5 separate regions of the Homo sapiens genome follow, and all the other regions are linked to region 4. Evidence: promoter capture Hi-C in 16 types of primary human blood cells and fetal thymus (Javierre and others, 2016). All regions are on one chromosome and are shown on one strand. Each heading gives the region's core, a stretch centred on a gene start or on the middle of the fragment in contact. The rest is flanking DNA. Distances are from core to core; before and after follow the strand shown. Region 1 overlaps TMEM217B (transmembrane protein 217B). Region 2 overlaps CPNE5 (copine 5). Region 3 overlaps CPNE5 (copine 5). Region 4 holds the start of FGD2 (FYVE, RhoGEF and PH domain containing 2). Region 5 holds the start of CPNE5 (copine 5).

Region 1 (3,575 bases), core at 912-3,411, 230 kb after region 4:
GAATGATTCTCCTGCCTCAGCCTCCCAAGTAGCTGGGATTACAGGCATGCGCCACCACACCCAGCTAACTTTTGTATTTTTAGTCGAGGTGGGGTTTCTCCATGTTGGCCAGGCTGGTCTCGAACTCCTGACCTCAGATGATCCTCCTGCCTTGGCCTCCCAAAGTGCTGAAACTACAGGCGTGAGCCACCACGCCTTGCCACTTAGATGCATTTTTGACTTAACAATATTTTCAACTTATGGGTTTATTGGGACATAACCTCATCGTAAGTTGAGGAGTACCTGTGCTTATGAAGTTGTAATCTTGATATAGCCACTAGTGATGATACAGTTAAGAGTTTGGGAGGAATGGCAGTGAGTGTGTGTGTAGAGGATAAGAAGTCCACATCTGGCCAGATGTGGTGGCTTGTGTTTGTAGTCCCAGCTACTCAGGAGTCTGAGGCAAGAGAATTACTTGAACCTAGGAGGCAGAGGTTGCACTGAGCCGAGATGGTGCCACTGCACTCCAGCCTAGGCGACAGAGTGAGACTCCATCTCAAAAAAAAGAAAATAAAATAAATATCGGTATACACATGTAATTTTGAGATAAAGAGATAAATAGGAGGGGAAATAGAAGAACTGAAAGTGGTTACCTGTGAAAAGTATGAATAGGGATAGGGAAGGAAGAAAAGAGAAATGCTGGTTTTATTATAAGGTTTACATATTAATATTACACACCCATGCACAATTTTAATAAAAATAAATTTATGAAAATATAATTATTTCATGAATTCCTAATAAACCCAGATCATTAAATAAATCCCACTGGCTACCCTTATGCTGGTGTGGCTTTTTAAAAAACACAGTATCTTCTTAACTGCAAAATGGTTAAAGCTGGCAATGTGGAAGGACAGCTGGATAACTCTGTCATAGTCTAAACCATGAGCTAAAAACATTATCATGAGAAGTAGCTGGGGATAGAACAAAGCTTTTTTTACTTGTGAAAATTTCTGGAAATGATATATTACTTCAAATACTACACAATTGGAAGTGATTCCAATTCCATCTTGGAATGTTGGCAACATTTTAAATTGTTTTAAATTAAAGATATCTGTCTTAGACCATTTATGCTGCTATAACAGAACACCACAGACTGGGTAATATATAAAGAATACAAATGTATTTCTTTTATTATTATTTTTTTTTGAGACAGAGTCTTGCTCTGTCGCCCAGGCTAGAGTGCAGTGGTGCCATCTCGGCTCACTGCAAGCTCCGCCTCCCAGGTTCACGCCATTCTCCTGCCTCAGCCTCCTGAGTAGCTGGGACTACAGGCACCCGCCACCACGCCTGGCTAATTTTTTCTATTTTTTAGTAGAGATGGGGTTTCACCATGTTAGCCAGGATGGTCTCGATCTCCTGACCTTGTGATCCGTCCACCTTGGCCTCCCAAAGTGCTGGGATTACAGGCGTGAGCCACCACGCCTGGCCTAATGTATTTCTTATGGTTCTGGAGGCTGGAAAGTCCAAGATCAAGGCACTGGCATTAGTGTCTGGTGAGGACTGCTCTCTGCTTCCAAGATGACGCCTTGTTGCTGTGTCCTCACAGGGAGGAAAGTAGAAGGGCAAGGGGACCTAAACTAGTTCCCTCTAGTCCTTTTATAAAGCACTAACCCATTTTGAAGGAACCCTCATGACTTAATCCCTTCCCCAAAGTCCCTATCTCTTAATACCACCACTATGGGGATTAAGTTTCAACACATGAATTTTGGAGGGGTCAAACACATTCAAACCACAGCAATATCTTTATGTAGAGTTTAAAATATTCATACTAGAAAAATAAAGCTAGATAAATAAAAAATCATTACCATAACAAAACATTGTAAAATAAAGCTGATTTTTATCCTTTCATCCCACTTTAACATCATCGTGTTTGAACTGAAAAAAGTGTGTAGTGTTTATTTTATTTTTAATTTAAAAACAATTTAAAAAAACAGAGACATGGTCTCACTATGTTGCCCAGGCTGGTCTTGAACTCCTGGGCTCAAGTGATTCTCCCACCTCTGCCTCCCACGAGTGCTAGGATTACAGGCATGAGCCACTGTGCCTGGCCATTTATTTTTAAATACTCTTTGTTTTTTAGGCCCTGAACTAAGCATTTATCATTTGCCAATCTGCAGCTCAGTTTAACCCTTTCTGAGTGGGTTATTTTTAGAGTATGAGCATGTGTATTTTTTTGGTGGTAGCATTGCCCTCCCAGGTTCAATCCTGGGGTGGGAGAGTAAGCTAATTAGTTGTGTTCTGAGTAACCAAGGATATCCTGAAAATGCAAGGGAATAATAGGCCATTATAGGGAGGGTATCAAGGTTGAGATCCGCAAATTTGCAAGTCAAATGCCCAGGCTTCAATCTTGGCTTCACCATTTACTGTGAATTTATTCTCTCCAAGTCTCAGTTTGCTCATCTTTAAATTGGATGTGCCAGTACTATTTTTTTTTTTACTAATTTTATTAATTTCTATAACAAATTACCCCAAAACTTAGTAGCATAAGATAACCATTTATTATGTGAATGGATTCTGTGGGTGAGGACTTCAGACAGAGCACAGTTAGCTTAATTTTGTACATTGTGGGGAATTTAGACAGGGCATGTCCAGGATGACTTGCTACTTCTCCTCAAACTTTGTAGCCTCTCCTAGAAGACTCACTCAGATGCCTGGCGATTGCTCTTGGCTGTCAGTTGGAGGCCTCAGTGCCCATCCATGTGGGCTTCTCCATGGTCTCTCTGTGTGGGCTCCTTTGGGCTCCTTCACAGCCTGATGACTGGCTTCTCCAGAATGAGTGTCCCAAAAAGAGCAAGCCAGATGGAAGCTGTATCACCTTTTCTTATTCTAGCCTCAGAAGTCCCATAGCAACACGTTTCCTGGACACTATTCTTTAGAAGTGAGTCACCAAGGCCATATTCAAGGGGAGAGGAATTAGATTCTACCTTTTGTGGGAGAAGTGTTAAAGAATTTGCCAAGATGTAGGGACTTCTGAGTATCTGAGTGTTCACAATCAAAGTTCCCGCATTTGCCAGGTTGCCCAGGGAAACAAAAGTCATCATGACAAGAAAATATTCACAAGTGAATTGACATTCTCTGCCTCCCTCAGTCCTGCAACATTCCTCCTTGCTGAAATGAAGGGCTCTCTGTGTGCACCAAGACCCCATCAAGTCAAAATCTTTATTGGTCAGCCTCTCTCTGGTAGCCCACTGTAAATATCTGACAACACACAACACAAGGCAAGTCGTTTGCAAGAAATTATTGCAAGTCTTGCAGAAGATTCAGGACTTCATGCAGACATTAAAAAGGATATTGGAAAACTGCTAGAATCATATGCAAAGCTTGAATGTAACAGAATTAGACCAGTTAATAACCAGAAAAGAGAAAATCAATAAGAATGTTATAGGCACTTCAGTAAAGAATGGTTTCAGGATGAATAAACTGCTACATATTTGCACAATGGGAGTGTTAAACAGGAGTCAAAAGGAACAACTGTAGCAACATACAACAATATGGTAGAATCTTAACAATGTAATATCAAGTGAAAAAAGTACTAA
Region 2 (4,115 bases), core at 1,411-3,910, 250 kb before region 4:
TGTTCTAGAAATGCACTGTGAGCTCCACCTCAGGGCCTTTGCATGTGCTGTTCTCTACAGCAGGAATGCTGGAATTCCCTTTCCCCAGTATCCTCAATACTTCCTCCATTGCCTGTCCCTTTACCCTTTATACTTTTTCCATAGCTCTCATAATCAACTGACACACACAGGCATGTGTGTGTGTGTGTGTGTGTTTTTTTTTTTTCTCTGTCTCCTCCCACTAGAATATAAGCACCAGGGATTTGGGTCTGTCTTGTTTCCAGCTGTATCTGATGTGCCTAGAATAGTGCCTGGCACACAGTAGCACTCAGTAAGTATTTGCTGAAGAAGCGTATGAATGTCCTCAAGACCAGCCCCGAGAAGCCACTAGGCCGGCGTGTCATCCCAGGAAGGTCACGGTTAAGCAGGGGCAGCGCCCGTAGCAGCTGCCAGCTCTGGAGTGAGATGTCATGTTGAGTCCCATCTCTACCACTTTCTAGCTGTGTGACCTTGGCTGAGTCACTTTCCTGCTTGCAGCCTTGGTTTCCTCTTTCATGACTAGGGGATGATAATATCTGCCTCTCAGGGCAACAACCTGTGAAAAGCACCAACGTGGGGAATTTCCCAGGGTAGGGGCCCAATAAATACGACTTCTCTTCCTCTTCCTTCCTGCAGGAAGTCCCGTGGATGTCTCTGCGATTCCTCATGCTAGATACAGCCAGCGCCTGTTGTGTGGTCTGCAAGTCAACTCTCTCCCCTGGCTGTTGCTCCATCTGCCCCACCCCTCCCCACCCCATCTCTCTTGGATGTCTGATTCCCACGCTCAGCCCCTGCACACACACAGACGCACGGGCCTCCCTGATACCAGACCTAGCTTGGGGCTCAGAATGTCTACACCCGGCTGCAGAGACCGGGGTGGCTACTCACTGTGCCAGAATTCACGTATTTCTTTTTCTTCATTTTCTTTTTCGGGTTTACCACCTGCAGGAAAAACCAGTTACCAGGTAAGGCATGCTTCCAGGCAGTCAGGGTGAGTCTTGAGGGCTTCCAACCACCCATGGGTGTGGTCCAAGCCCAGCCCCATTAGAGTGTGGGGTGTGAAGACCACGGGGCCAGGGGAGAAGGGTTTAAGGAGGATTTGTGGGAGACTGGTATTGAGTCTGGGTTACACAACTGGGTTCTCCCATCAGACCCAGGGTCCCACGATCAACCGGGAATATTTATTTAACCTTCTCTCCCACTGTTCCCCGGAACACACGCACCCTCCACCCAGTATAGCCAAAGAAGTCTTGATGTTGCAAAGCGGCCCTATCTGTACCTGTCCCTTGTGTTGGTTGAGGCTGCTCCCCTCACCAAAAATGCACCCCCTTCCTCTCTCAGCCAATTCCAATCTCCCCTGTTCCTCCTTTGGGACCCAGCCCAAGGGCTGCCCAGGGCCTCTGAGGCTCCCCTCTCCATCACCATCCCTCTTACTTGGCAGCAAGAACCTCTTTAGCTATTCTTTGAGTGTAAGCTTTAACTTCCAAACCAGACCTGTGTCAGATAAATCATGGGGCTAGGCTCAGAGTAGGTGCTCAGAGAAGGCTTGTTGGTGGCTAACTCAGCGGTCTCAACCAGGGGCGATTTTACCCCCAGGAACGTTTGGTAACATCTGGAGACGGTTTTGGTTTCCACAACTGAGGGGGTGAGTAGAGGCCAGGCATGCTGCTAAACATCCTACAGTACACAAGACAGCCTCCCACGGCAGGGAGTGATGCAGTCCCAAATCCCAGTAGTGCCAAGGCCAAGACTGGGCAAAGTGACGAGAGCCACCCAGCCCTGAGGCCCCCCACGAGACTTCCGCACTTACTGTATTTGTATTCTCATTTGACCCTCGCCAGTTTTTCTTTGTTTTGTTTTTAATAAGGGAAGTCTAGGCACAACTTTTCCCTAATGTCCCATCAAACAAAGCCAGGCAATTTTCATACCTCCTGTGCTGCCTGTTGGTTTCTGGTGAACTCATTTCCCCTTTCCCTGTCTTTGTTCCCACAGAGGCCGTCAGCTGATCTTTACCGTGGTCTCTTCTGTCTGGGTGAGTATTGCTATCTACTTCCAGCAAGAAGGAAACTAAAGCACAGCGACACCAGGTGATTTGCCTAAAGTCACACAGCCATCTGGGTAGTGACAGGATTAGAAACCAGGTTTCCTGCCCCCGGGCCAGTGGTGCATACATTGGTGCCACCTTGATAACAGATACAAACAGATCTCTTTGACATACATTTATGGGGTGGGTGGAGACATATATTGCTTCTCCCCTGGAATCATCTATCACCTATGTTGGAGAGAGAAGATATGTCCTCAGGGCAAAAAGTGACAAGGGCCATGGAACAAGGGGGATCACAGAAGTGTCAGGGGAGTTAGAGGAAGGAAAGACCACTCTAGGTGAGAGTGTCAGCAAAGCCTCTCTGGAGCAGGAAGTCTTGAAGGCAGACTTAGAGGCACAGGAAGGCTCTGGGCACGGAGAGATGGATGTCAGAGGAGGTTCTGTGGGAGAAATGAATAGAACCCAGGCCCAGTTTGATGGCAGAACCACAGGGTGGAAGAGTAAGCTGGGCTGGTTGGAGGAGAGCCTAGAATGCCCAGTGAAAAATGTCTGAATGTCACCCAGCGGCCTGCAGGGAACTCTGATGACCCCCAAGCTGGTAGGAGACAAAATCAGAGCAGGCTCTAGGACACTGGGGCCTGGTGGAGGTGAGTGTGAGGGGAGGAGGAGGCTCATCCAGGAAATATTTGCCTAGTTCTGCCACCTAATAATAGCTGTGTGACCTTAGGCAGGTTACTTAACCTCAATGTGCCTCAGTCTCCTCATCTCTAAAATGGGAATAAGAAGTACCTGCCTCCCGGAAAGGTATGAGGATTAAATGGGCCAATGCAAGCAAAGTGCCTAGAACAGTTTGGAATGTAGTAAGTATTATCTATACGTGTCTGTTGCTTTTTTCTAAGACGGGGTCTTGCTCTATGGCCCAGGCTGGAGTGCAGTGGTGGGGTCATAGCTCACTGTGGCCTCAACCTCCCGGGCTCAAGCAATCCTTCCAGGTAGCTGCCACCATGTCTGGCTATTTTTTTTTTTTTGGTAGAGATAGGATCTCGCTATGTTACTCTGGCTGGTCTCAAACTCTTGGGCTCAAGCAATCCTCCTGCCTCAGTCTCCCAGAGTGTTGGGATTACAGGCGTGAGCCACTGCACCCAGCCTTAGTTGCTATTTTTCAAAATTACTACTACTATTATTACTGCCACCATAAGTCCATGCGAGAGGTCATGAGGACTTGGGGGTATTGGGACAGGTGCTGAGCTATGGTGAGAACAGCGCTGTCAAGAAGTGACCACGCCTCTTGGGCCCTGGGCGTGGCTATAGAGGTTCGAGAGAGGGAGGGGTTGGGGTGACCAGGTAGACACAGAAGGAAGGCGCTGGATTTGGGGCACAGGTGGGAAGTTCACGTGGGAGGTCTGGCAAGCTGTGCAGGTAGAAACTGAGGGCCTGGGCGAGATGGTGAGAGAGCCCGGGAGAGAAGACCAGAGCACCCTCTTTAGCACTGGAGGACGCCCCCTCCACGGGGTTACCCAGATGGTGAGGTGCTCACGGACACATTCATGGGAAAACAGCTTAAGTAGGCAAGCTGTTAAGATGAGGGCAAAATGGCAGCCCCAGTGCTGCACTGTGCCTCAGTTTCCCAATCTCTCCCTTGAGGGTGTTGAACTATCGGAATGGACAGCATCTCAAACTTTTGCTCCAACATAGCCCTCCCAGCTGGGGAGAATGAACCCGGAGTCCTGAGAGTAACCAAAGATTTGGCCACAAGCATGTTTCTTCTAAGCTTTCTATGTTATCTTTAAATTAGCCTGTATTCCACATTTCCACTCTCTGATATAACTGCTTTAATGTTAAAGCAATGTTCTGTTCTCAGATCCCTGTTTACCCTGAGGTTTCATGCTCCCAGCCTCAGCCTCTCCAGCCCCGCCACGGTGAATCCCATGCAGGGGGCCAGCGCCACCTAGGGGCCAGCCGAGGAGCTGCCCCTCCACTAAGTCACCTCCCTTCTTCTTGGTGGTCAGGCGGGGACAGGACAGGTCTGGAATCTGCCCTCCTGCGCACATTA
Region 3 (3,983 bases), core at 1,072-3,571, 200 kb before region 4:
AGATGCTCCCAGTCCTACCACTAACATTTCCTCTTCAGCTCCCACTCCTTTCTGCTCATCTTCCACACCTGAGAGGGTTTTCGTCCTCCATCTAAAGGGGTCTCCCGAAAGCCCTAGCTCTCAGTGGTTGCTCTCTAGATATCTTCTGTATGCGGGGTGAGACTGGAGGCAAATGCAGGGCTGGCCCTTTGCTCGAACAAACCGACTTCTCCATCAGGATCCAGGCCCTACTCTCCCTACGGGCTACCCACAACACCAGGGTCCTTAGTACCCCAGGCCTCAGTTGAAAAAAGGCCGCAGAAAACCTAAGGTTTTCTTAGAGACCTGGGGCCTAGAGAAGAAACTCACTGTGGCCACCAGCAGGGAAGGAAACAAAAGGCAGGAGGAGCCCTTGGGCATGGAAGCCACGTAGTGAAAGTAAAGGAGAGAGGTCGCCCGCTCAGCCTCTGATCATGGACTAGGATGTGGAGAGAAAGGCAGCCCAGGAAGAGGTGCCCTCTCTGTTGCTTCCAGATTTCTTTTCTTTTTTCTTTTTTTTTTGAGAGGAGTTTTGCTCTTGTTGCCCAGGCTGGAGTGCAGTGGCGCGATCTTGGCTCACTGCAACCTCTGCCTCCTGTGTTCAAGTGATTCTCCCGCCTCAGCCTCCCCAGTAGCTGGGATTACACGTGCCTGCCACCACGCCTGGCTAAGTTTTGTATTTTTAGTAGAGGCGGGGTTTGGCCATGTTGACCAGGCTGGTCTCGAACTCCTGACCTCAGGTAATCCACCCCCAACCGTCGGCCTCACAAAGTGCTGGGATTACAGGCATGAGCCACTGTGCTCAACCTGCTTCCAGATTTCTAAAATCTGGGCCCCTTCTTCCTCCTCATCACCCACCAGCTGGGAGGCAGCAACAGACAGCACAAGGACATCTCCCGGCACGTGAGTCAACTCCCCACAAATGCCCATGGCTGCAGAACATTGGGGCCCAGGGCCAGGGAGGGCCCAGGACCCTCCCAGGCCTGCCTTGTGTTGCTTACGATCTGCCTGAGACACCCCCTGAGAGGGTGTACCTCCCTGTTGCTTAAACAGAGTAAATCATTCCTTCCTCCAGATGGAGGACAGAAGGGACATGCAGGGAGTGTCTGTTGCAGAGCTGGTCTCCAATACTGATAGTAACCCTCACAGAGCCCTACTGCGTGCCACGCACTAAGTGTTATCCATAAGGTCATTCATTTAAGCTTCATAACAACCTTCCGAAGCAGAACTATTATCCCCACTTTACAGATAAGTAAATTAAGATAAGGCTCAGAGAGATTGAGAGACTTGCCCAAGGTCACACAGCTAGCAGGCGATAGGAACGGGATTCAAACCCAGGCTGGCTGGCTCCAAATCAATAAGGAGTTGATATAGTCACTATTCAGTAAGAGGCTTATGCTGTGAATGGAGGCTGGGACTAGGTCTGACAGTTTTCAGCCCTGTAGTTTCTCTACTCCCTAGCGCAGTCTCTGAACTTCTGGGATTACTGTGCCTGCTCCCTTGTTAACACTCCCTGTGGGTCTGGGTGGACCCACAGATCAGGTCATAATGTGAGTGTCCCTGACCTAACACCCTGCCCAACCTCTATCCCTCCCCTTGCAGCCCCTACGCAGAGAGAGAGAGAGGAGAGAGAGAGAGGAAGGGAGAGACAGAGAGAGAGAGAGATTGAGAGAGAGAGAGGAGGAGGAGAGAAAGAGTCCTCAACCCTCCTGTGATTTCCTTTTAAAAATGTTAACAAGTTGGGCAGCACTTTGGGAGGCAGGAGGATCGCTTGAACCTAGGAGTTCGAGACCAACCTGGGCAACATAGTGAGATCCCATCTCCACAAAAAATAAGAAAATTAGCCAGGCATGGAAGCACACGTCTGTAGTCCCAGCTACTTGGGAGGCTGAGGCAGAAGGGTCAATTGAGCCCAGGAGATTGAGGCTGCAGTGAGCCGTGATTGTGCCACTGCACTCCAGCCTGGGCGACAGAGCACGACGCTGTCTCAAAAACAAAAAAACAAACAACAACAACAAAAAGCCAAAACAACAACCAAAAAAAAAATCAAATTGACTTAGGACCTGATTTTAGAGCTGGAAGAAACCAAATCCTCTCAATTAACACATGAGAAAACAAAGGCAGAGAAGGTGGGAGGGGGGCTGTTCTGACCACGGTCACACAGCTCATTAGGAAATGGATGCTGACGGGTACCCCAGCCAGTGGGGCTCCCAGCGCTGAGTGGAGCCCTGGTTCACCCAGAAGCCTGTGGACATCCCTGCTCAGGTTTCTCCCTTCCACCCGATCCTCCTCCTCCTCCTTCTGCTTGGTATCCTGACTTCTCAACTTTGAAACACTTCCATACATCCACGATCTCATTTAACCCCCTCCAATGACCCCGTGACAATGAAATTATTATCATCTCCACTTTACCGATGAAAGAACGGAGCTCTTGGAGGCCAGAGAAGCCCTCCCAGAGGCAACCCATGGTGGGCGAGGAAGGGCCGGGACTCTCAGGAGTGAGAAAGGCAGAGCATCCCTGGTGCTCACCACAGCCCCTACCTCAGGCATGCGTGGGTGGCTCTCTGCAAGCCTGAACAATCTTCATGGCCCTGGATTTAGGCAGCTCTTGCCTTTTTACAAATTACAGCTGGATTGAGCTTCGGAGCCATCCCCCAGCTGCAAAGCCCCCAGGGGCTGTGCCGGTGGGATAGGAGGCTGGAGCTGACAGACTGCTGTCTACCTCACAAGCTGCTCACCCTTCCCCAGCCGTAGATCCCTCAATACTTTTCATATATTATTGATGGCTCCTTAATTGGGGATTCTAAAAGCCTCGCTGCAGAGCCCAGCCCTGGCCCCTCATGAATCATGTTCACTAGGATTAAAATTAGAGGCCAGAAAGCTACCTGACTCAAATAGAAACGGAAAAAGGGAATGTGCTTTCCAAGGCTGGCCCTGGGAATAGGAGCCAGGTGGGGGCGCCCAGTGGCTGGGAAGAGTGGCCTGAGATCTGGGGACAGGAAAGGAGGGCCTGGGGAGGCGGAGGAGCACGGAGGATCTGGCCATGCCAGGCCTGCACCATCTTGGGTCTGGAAAGTTCTCTCTGGTTCTGTCACTGAAGGAGTCCAGAATTCTGTGGCCACCCCTCCTCGTTGCAGTGAGGAAAACCAGGCCCAGAGAGAGATGGGGCTTGCCTAAAATTACAGGGAGTGAGCCATGACCTTGGCACCTTTCGTTTCGTAGGCCTGGTGACCTCCCAAATGGCTGCCTGTTTTGTTAAGGCTTCCAGGTAAGGCAGGGCAGAGGTGGAGACAGGGGCCCTGAGTTAGGGAAGCCCAGGCTCTAAAGGCCTCCCTGTTCTCAAGCCTGGTCAGAGAAGCCTCCCTATCTCGCCCAGAGACCAGGGTCAGGGTATGAAACTTTACCAAGCTTAGAATGAAAGACTTCCTGCCAAAAAGCTTAGTTCCTAATTAGCCATTGTTTCAGATAATCTGTTCAATCATCCCAGCTCCTCGGGGAACGGGGAACGACCCTTTACCAATGAGCCTGGCTGCCAAGCTGCCAACAAAACACTCTCCACCACCTTGTCCCCACCCCCAGCCTTCTAGCCCCGGGTCTGACTGTAGAGGGTGGGGGGCCTGAGCAGTCCCCACCCTAAAGGAAGCCAAGCATCATGGAGGGGGCCCTGGGACTTGTCCCCCAGCTCACTCCAAAACATCGATAGCTCCTGCCAAATGGCATCACGATGTCTGAAATGATACTGTCAATGGTTCCTTCCTCCAGATAAAGCATTGGTTTCTTACTTAGGGCTTCTTATAAGAAGAGCCATTATTGAGCTTTTTCTGCAGGCCAGGCACTTTACACGAATTAGCTTATTTACTCCTCACAGTAGGCTTGTGAGCCTAAGTGCTTGGCCAAGATCCCCCACCTGGGCAGGTGGTGGGCCCATTTTTAAACTTGACTTTGGAGTGCACACTTTCAACAGC
Region 4 (3,829 bases), core at 1-2,500:
GGGCCGGGAGACCAGGTGGTAAAGGAGGCCTCAGGCAAAGACAACCCAGTGTCCTGGGATCAGGGAGGCCTGGGGATGGAGCAGCAAGAACATGGTCATCCAGGCTCCCAACGAACCTTTGCTGGAACTGTAGGACACCCACTTTTGCTTTGGAAATCCAACTTCTCTTGTATTCTTCCTGGGTGACCTTGGGCAAGTTACTTAACCTCTCTGATTCTGTTTCTTCCTATGTAAAGTGGGGATAGGAATAGTACCTACCTCATGAGGTTGTTATAGGATTAATAAGAAAATACTCATAAGCATGAAAAAGAGTGCATGTTAGCTATTATTATCCTCTGAGTTTCAGGGAGGAAACTGCCCTCCCTTGGGGCAATGAGGTGATGACAGCAACAACTAAAATGAGAGAACCCCAGTGGGGAGGTGGGAACATCACAGTACTCCCTGCCACCCTTACCAGGTTTGTGATTATTTTAAATAAAACATGCTGTTTCCTGGCCAGGCACAGTGGCTCACATCTGTAATCCCAGAATTTTGGGAGGCCGAGGCAGGAGGATCACCTGAGGCCAGGAGTTCAAGACCAGCCTGAGCAACATGGTGAAACCCCATCTCTACTAAAAATACAAATAATTAGCAGGGCGTGGTGGCAGGCCCTGTAATCCCGGCTACTCAGGAGGCTGAGGCAGGAGAATCGCTTGAACCGGGAGGCAGAGGGTGCAGTGAGCCGAGATCCCACCACCGCACTCTGTCTCTAAAGAATAAAAAAGACATTATTTCCTTACAGCTGTGAGCAGGGGCAGATGCAGAAAAGAAGGTGCTGGGAAAGAGGCCAAGTAAAAGCCACTGGACCTTCTGAAGGAGAAAGTGTGGTTGGCTGGAACCACTAGGCCAAGAAACCAGCCAAGGGTCTGGCTCCGGGTGGCCTTTTTTTTTTTTTTTTTTTTTAAGAGACGGTGTCTCACTATGTTGCCCAGGTTGGTCTTGAACTCCTGGGCTCAAGCAATCCTCCTGCTTCGGCCTCCCAAAGCACTGGAATTAGAGGTGCAAACCACTGCACCAGCCCAGACTGGGCTCCAGAAGCTACCTCTGGGCCCTGTTGCCACCTCTTAGGTGGCTTCTGGAATGGGGGTCTACAGGTGTGAAAGGTCAGCCCCCCTGAGGGAGAGGTGGGGCCCGAGCAGGCTCCTCCCACTGCGGGAGTGCTGGCCTTTCCCCTGCAGGGCTGTGGCTCTGGGACCACTTCCTCTTTCTTCACTCTGAAGCCAAGAGCCGACCTTCTGAGCCCTCAAGAAAGATCAGAACAGATTCATGGGTGATTTAGCCTATCTGTCCCAGGCCAGCGTGGCTGAGTGTGCTGGCTGGAGGCCTCTCTCTCTGCTTCGAGGGTAGCTGAGATCCACCCCGGAAACCGGCAGGATGAAGGGGGCAAGTGAGGAGAAGCTGGCATCTGTGTCCAACCTGGTCACTGTGTTTGAGAATAGCAGGTATGGGCAGCTGGGGTGGGAGGGTCACCATGGTGGGCTGGCAGCCACCCTCCAGCCTTTCTGGCAGCTCTCTCCCTGGGCCCTGCCCCGGACCCTCCTCCTGCAGGGGCAGCCCCGCGTTCCTCGGTCACGGATTCCTTGGAGCATGGGAGAGTGTCGGTGGGACACCAGGAGCCAGGCAGGGGTGAGAGTGCCAGTGTGTGTTGGGAGAGTCCAGACAGGTGTGGTTACGAGCAAGCATGGGCAGACCAAAGCCTGTGTGTGGGCACAGGACCCCACCCAGTGCCTGCCAGCACCTCTCAGAAAAGGTAGCTGATACTCACCAAGAATTTACGCCCTATGATTAGGATAACCATATAATTTATCATTCAGCACACAATTGAAACTGAAAGTAAATGCCAAATAAAATGTGGTGGTTGTGGGGGAGGCATTACAGGTAAAGCTGGGACCGTATGAGGCAAACCAGGATGTACGGGCAGCATCCTGATGGGGTACTCCCTACTCTAAGTTCATGTCCTTACTTATTTAATTTAGTCATCGAACAGCCTAATAGGGGTAGATTCTGTTTCTGTTCCCGTCTTATAGATGAGGAAATGGAGACACAGAGAGGTGAGGATGCCAAGTGCTTTAAGTATCTGGGGCAATGCTGGGGCGTCTGTCTGGAGGGAAAAGGCTGGGCCAGATGCGTGGAGTCATTGGTAGCCCTGGGAGCATGTGTGTTTGTGTGTGTGCGCGTGTGTGTATGTGTGTGTTGTGTGTTATGTGTGGCATCAATCCATTCTGCAGGCATTTCTTAAGCTCAGGACTGTGTTAGGGGCTGTCCCAGGTAGGGTTTTCTGGAAATAGACTCAGACAGAGGTTTGCCTCAGGTGATTTATCAGGGAGAGCTTTTGGGAACAACAGCTGTGGGTGTGAGGGAAGCAGGGCCGGGCAGGGGGAGATGCTGAACTGCAGTGCACCTGCCACAGAGGCCTCAGCCTGTCCCAGGGAGCTCTGGAGCTGGGATGCCTCTCGGTTGTTCCAGCTGAGGAAGAGGGCTGGGTATTTGTATCTCCATGTGGACTGGACAAGAGACTCTGGGTGAGGCAGCTCTCTCTTCCAGAGAGTGATTCCCAGAGAGGGACTCAGCCAATAAATTACCCGGCAGCCCCCAGTACTACCAGTAGCTGGTGGGGATGGTGTGGGGAGGCCTCATTCCTGAAGGAGGGACATGGGTGGCACAGCACAGCATCCTACAGGAACTGTAGAGGATGAAGAAGGGTTTCAGTATTTGGATGCTGAGCTCATCGAATAACTATGATGCAAGGTCATAGACAGTAGATGTCCTAGGAATGGCCCGGATGCTGTATTGAGGGCACTCATGGCAGGCAATGTTTCCTGTAGGCTTCAGGGTGGAGATGGCATAGATGTAGACCTAGAAGTCTTCAACTTCCTGAGCTGGGTGATTCTCCCCTGCCTCTCCCGGGATCTTTGCCAAGCTCGTCCTGTTCAGCACCAAAGACAGCTCTTGGGTGCCGCCTTCCTGGCCCACCACCCCCTTGGGTGTGGGTGGATGGTACCACCTCACTCAACATGCTTGACGTGGACTAGGCACACCTGGGTGGAGCCCCTCAGCATGCTGTGCTCTGCCCAGGCAATAACCCTGGCAGGAGTGGGCAGCCCTTAGACGGGAGTTAGGTCCCAGCAGGCATCAAGAGGGTGAGAGCCACTCCTTACTGAGTGAGGGGACCCATACCAACTGCCTTGGCCTGGGCTTCCTTATGAGGTCTCCAGCACCTCAGCTGATCTGAAACTGAGGGGCAAAGAGGAAACAGAAGCTGGCCAGGGGCCCTAGAACAGAAATGCAGAACCTGAAACCAAATGTAGAACAGAAAGCCTGAGAACCAGCTACGCCCATGAGCTGCAGACCCATGGGCTGAGAAACCAGGGACTGGGGTGCCAGGGAGGGGTGGGAGAGCCTGGGAGTAGCCACACAGCACTAGGTCCCAATGCTTTCGCTGCCACAAACCCAATTGTGTCACTTGGGGCAAGTCACTTTGACTCCGCGGACCTGTTTCTCCTTTACTCAAATGGGGAGGGGCAGGTTAGAGTGAAGGCTCAGGAAGCAGTCGCCTGATTTGAATCCCACCTCTGCCACTTCCGAGCCGCATGTTACTCATCCTGTCCAGACCTCAGTTTCCTTGAGTGCAAAATATGGGTAATGAAAACCTTTCTCACGGAGTTTTGGAGATTTCGTATTTGTTTGGCCTTCCATTTCCTGGCCTGTCTTTCTCATAAGGATGCCTGCCCTGTTCTGTCATCACAAGCCCTTCCACACCAAGGGCAACGTTGGGTGTATTCATCAAGGG
Region 5 (3,860 bases), core at 445-2,944, 170 kb before region 4:
AATGGGCTGTTCAGAGGCTTGGAGGTGGGAAGGATCCCAAGACAACTGAAGATGACAGGCATGATTGAAGGCTGGGAGGGAGTGCCAGGCGCAGGGATGTGCGTGCAGGAGAAGGGTGGGGAGGCCGTGCTGCTTTTGATGGCTGAGGAGGTGAGACTGGAGCTAATGGGCCATCAGGAATCTCCCAGCAGAGTAATGACAAGATGCAAATGGCGTTGGGAGATGATCCTGACGGCATGGTGTATGGGACCTGGGAGCTATCACAGGAGCCCCCAGAGGGCCTGGCTTAGGGGGGAAGCTACGTTCAACCAGACTAGCCTTCACTGCCACTTATCCCCAAGTCTTCAAGAGAAAGTCACACTGAGTCCTTCCCTCCTTCACGCCCCTGCCCAGACTCTCCAGCTCTACCTACACCTCATCAATGCCACAACTTTGTAATACAGGACTGGGGGGCAACAAGGTTACCTCTCATGGAGGGTCTGACCAAGGAGCAACCTGGAAGAGGATGAGATGGGTGATTTCGAACAAGGGCACAGCCAGGGCTCCAGAAATGCTGTCGGTGATCTGGGGCAGGGGGCATGGCCTCTGTGGGGGAACCTCAAAGTGGGTGATGCTTGCGTGGCAGCACATGATCCTAGGCCAGCCACAGAGAGACTGAACTAGGGAAAAATCCCCCTTTGCCACCCATACCCTCTTACTGCCAGGGGCAGCCTTCCCCTAGCTAGGAGAACCTGGGGTCGACCCAGCTCTTAGACAGAGAAGTTACCCCCAAACCCTGTGTGACATGAGTGAAGATTTGGGCGTGGTAGCCCACAAAAATATTCCCCCTCCTCCTCTGTTGGACTCTACAGTTTCACAATCAGTGTTCTATTCCTTTGGCTTAAGATTTTTGACCCAAGTTATTTTTTTAATGGTGCCACTTTAAGTTGTTATCATGTATCCACACCTTAGTATGAATGAGTCAATCTGATCCTTTTCCAGGAGTCGATTTCGTTGTTGATAGAGATGAAGGAAGGCTTTAAAATCCTAGAGTCTAGGACAGTGGGGTGGGGGAGACTGGTGAGGGGAGGATCAGGATGCTGGGGCAAAGAAGGGGCAAAGAGAGAAGAGAGGAGGGCACAGAAGGGAGAGGGTGGACGAGCCTGGGAGGGATGGGGGCAAATCACTCACTTCGTGATTTGGGGATGGGGTGATCAGAGATAGCCTGAGCAGAGACCGTAGTACAGCCTTTTACCAACTCCCTCTCCCCACTTGGGTGCCTGGACCCCCTGTTCCTGTGTCTTCATATCTCCTCGATGCAACAGCCTGGAGCGCAAACTTTCTGGGATATGACCCCAGCCTGGCTTCCTATTCTGCCGTCGCCACCCGCAGCTGGACAGGACAGGGGCTCTTGGCAGATCGGCAGGGGCGCAGTCCTGGAGACCAGGACACTCTGGGAAGGGGGCGCGCGGAGGTTTAGGATCGAAGCGGCAGGGGCCGCGGGGCTCTGCGTCCAGGGCCGGGGCAAGGGGACCCGGCCAGCGGGAGGCTCACCTGCAGGACACGGTGATCTCCACCTTGGTGGCCGGGATGCTGCCCGCCAAGGAGTCGAACTCGCTCAGCGACGCCATGTCCTCAGGCTGCTCCATCGCCCACCGCACCCCCCACCCCAAATTAGTCAATCCCTGCGCGATTCACGCCTCCTCCGGAGCGACTGGAGCCCTGGGCTCTCCCCCAACTCCAGAGCCTGGGCTGGGCGGCAAGGGGAGGAGAGAGGAGCGCGAAGAGGGGGCGTGGGAAGTGAGAGAGGGAAGAGGGCGGAGGGAGCGGGGGCCGCGGATCGAGGAGGGGGCTCGGGTGACGCCGCGAGGAGGCTAGGGGCCCAGTGGGGAAGGGCAAGGAGCCCAGGGAGCGGGGGCACAGCGGGGAAGGCAGAGAGGGGCGCGGGGAGAGGGGCTCGGGGAGAGGGCACCGGGAGGGAAACGCGGAGTCGTGGAGAGGGGCACCAGGAGAGGGACGCGCGTCTGTGGGCAGAGGTAGAGGGGATGCAGAAGACAGGGAGAGGGGCGTGAGGAGCGGGAGGCGCCGGATGGGGCGCTGGCGGCGGGGGTGGCGGGGCGCCGGCAGCGCGGAGCCCGAGCGCCCGGGCTGCGCCGCCTCTCCCTGGGTCTTGGCGCCGGCGGCGACGGGGCTGAGACGCGGCTGCGAGCGCCACCTCCTCGGCTCGGGCTTCGGCTCCGGGGCGCCCGGGCTGCGGGAAAATCAAATCTGCCCGAAGCCGCAGCCTCCCGCCGCCCGGGAACGCCAGAGGGGGCGCCCGCAGGGGCCGGGGCGGGGCCGCGGGCGGGGTCTGCGCGCAGGGTGAGTGTGAGCGTGTGTGTGTGCGCGTGTGTGTGTGTGTGCGCGCGTGGCGGGCCGGGGGACGCGGTCCAGATGCTGGGGACGTGGCGGGTGACAGCAAGAGGTGGTCCTGGTCGCGCGCATCTTCATTTGCGCCCGCCCCCTCTCACCACCCCTATCTCCCATCAGGGGTCTCCATCCTGGGGGAGGGGGAGGGTTATGGGAACCAACGGGCGCCTTTTTGAGAAAGGTCTATGCAGGGTTGAGAGGGGGCATAAGTGGGAGGGAGGTGTGCAAAAAAGATCCCCTCCCAGGGGCTTGGGTGTGGAGGGTCTCTGCTGAGTGTGCGCCCTACTCGGGGGCGGGTCTCAGTTCAGAAACAGACCCTACATCTCCTTCTGGGGAGGTGTGTGGGGGCGACCCCAGTGCCAGGAGGGACTACCTCGGTTTCCCAGTGGCCCAGGTGGGGTCGGTGCATGGGCGCCTCCCCCATCCGTGGTTCCCGCCAGCCGCGGCCTCGCCAAGTCGGCTGCCGAAACCACGCGCCAGCGCCCTTCCACTCCCCCGCCCGTCGTGACCACACGACTGAGCCAGCCTCCAGGTCTAGAAGCTCCTGCCACCCAGTCTGGTGGCAACCAGACTGGGAGATCGGCCCGAGCTCCCTGGGCTTCTATGCAGCCAGCACCGAGTAGGCGCGTGCTGTGTGCCTGGCGAGCGAGGGGAGAGTTGGGACACCTCTCCTGCAGTCCTCTTCCCAGCCAAGCCCCTCGCGATCCCCCGCCCTAGCCCAGCCTTGCCCTCCCGGGCATGAGGTTGCAGCGCAGAGGCGTCTCCCTGAGTAAGGCTGCACACGTAGACTTGACTCTAGCCCATCCTCAGCCTCAGCCTAAGCTTTGCCGAGCTGGAACCTCCACTTCCTCGCCCACCGCCTGGCACATCGAAGCCGATGTGCCTCGGGCCGGCGGGGAGGCCAAAAACCTGGTGCTGGGCTGGGCAGAGTTGCGCTCTCTGGGCCTTGTTTGTGGCAGCGGGACCATAAGGGGCTCCTCCGGATTCTGTTTGAAGTCAATTCCTGGAACATCAGATACTGTCAGTCAAAGATAAATACAAGAACACATTCCTCTGCCTGTTACAATTTCCCCATGGCTCAGAATCAGCTGGACTGGGTTCTGCCTCCTGGAACAGGCAGCAAGGGACAGAGGCTGTTAATTCCCCTGACAGCCAGGCACAGCTGGGTCAGGAGGCCCCACTCCAAGGAGAATAATTCTGTCTTCCCTTCCTGAGGATGCAAAACTGAACTCGGAATCTCTATGTTCCCCATCCCCCACATACCTGGCATAAACAATGCTCAAAGCATGCTTGTGGAATATGTTCTCCATTCATTCCAGGAGTGTTTACTGAGCATCTGCTGTGTGCCTGGCCCAGTGACAGGGCCTTGGGAAACCTTGTTCATAACAATAATTAGCATCGTTTTATTTTCAAAGATCTGGGCCAGACACCATGCTTACTTTTTTTTTTTGAAATATTAGTCACATACCATA

Evidence for each region. Contacts are between HindIII fragments. The CHiCAGO score rates a contact against its expected background, and 5 or more counts as called.
Region 1: a fragment that was not itself captured here is called in contact with the fragment with the promoter of FGD2 in region 4 in 12 of 17 cell types (activated CD4 T cells, total CD8 T cells, naive CD4 T cells and 9 more); the score reaches 9.4 in activated CD4 T cells.
Region 2: a contact is called between a fragment that was not itself captured here and the fragment with the promoter of FGD2 in region 4, in 5 of 17 cell types (erythroblasts, M0 macrophages, M1 macrophages and 2 more). The highest score is 7.7, in erythroblasts.
Region 3: a fragment that was not itself captured here is called in contact with the fragment with the promoter of FGD2 in region 4 in 3 of 17 cell types (erythroblasts, activated CD4 T cells and endothelial precursors); the score reaches 6.6 in erythroblasts.
Region 5: a contact is called between the fragment with the promoter of CPNE5 here and the fragment with the promoter of FGD2 in region 4, in 17 of 17 cell types (erythroblasts, activated CD4 T cells, neutrophils and 14 more). The highest score is 18.8, in erythroblasts.

The regions. Positions count from the first base shown.
Region 1 is chr6:37,234,199-37,237,773 of GRCh38, forward strand. All of the region lies in intron 1 of TMEM217B (transmembrane protein 217B), which reads right to left. All of the region lies in intron 1 of TMEM217 (transmembrane protein 217), which reads right to left. Among named protein-coding and RNA genes, the nearest start is that of TBC1D22B, 22 kb to the right of the region's middle. The HindIII fragment of the contact is 2,392 bases long and covers 966-3,357 here.
Region 2 is chr6:36,755,339-36,759,453 of GRCh38, forward strand. CPNE5 (copine 5) reads right to left here. Exons shown (of 21, transcript NM_020939.2): 13 at 907-960. Among named protein-coding and RNA genes, the nearest start is that of RAB44, 60 kb to the left of the region's middle. RefSeq lists enhancers at 24-1,223, 3,909-4,098, 3,934-4,115. The HindIII fragment of the contact is 2,341 bases long and covers 1,491-3,831 here.
Region 3 is chr6:36,807,569-36,811,551 of GRCh38, forward strand. The region is part of intron 3 of CPNE5 (copine 5); the gene reads right to left. Among named protein-coding and RNA genes, the nearest start is that of CPNE5, 30 kb to the right of the region's middle. RefSeq lists a silencer at 3,456-3,624. The HindIII fragment of the contact is 2,206 bases long and covers 1,219-3,424 here.
Region 4 is chr6:37,004,405-37,008,233 of GRCh38, forward strand. FGD2 (FYVE, RhoGEF and PH domain containing 2) reads left to right here and starts at 1,251. Exons shown (of 16, transcript NM_173558.4): 1 at 1,251-1,481. The coding sequence starts at 1,414. RefSeq lists a silencer at 849-1,011 and enhancers at 1,267-1,396, 3,217-3,386. The HindIII fragment of the contact is 9,965 bases long and covers 1-3,829 here.
Region 5 is chr6:36,837,750-36,841,609 of GRCh38, forward strand. It overlaps CPNE5 (copine 5), which reads right to left and starts at 1,695. Exons shown (of 21, transcript NM_020939.2): 1 at 1,534-1,695. The coding sequence starts at 1,628. RefSeq lists a silencer at 2,159-2,368 and an enhancer at 3,053-3,603. The HindIII fragment of the contact is 11,867 bases long and covers 1-3,208 here.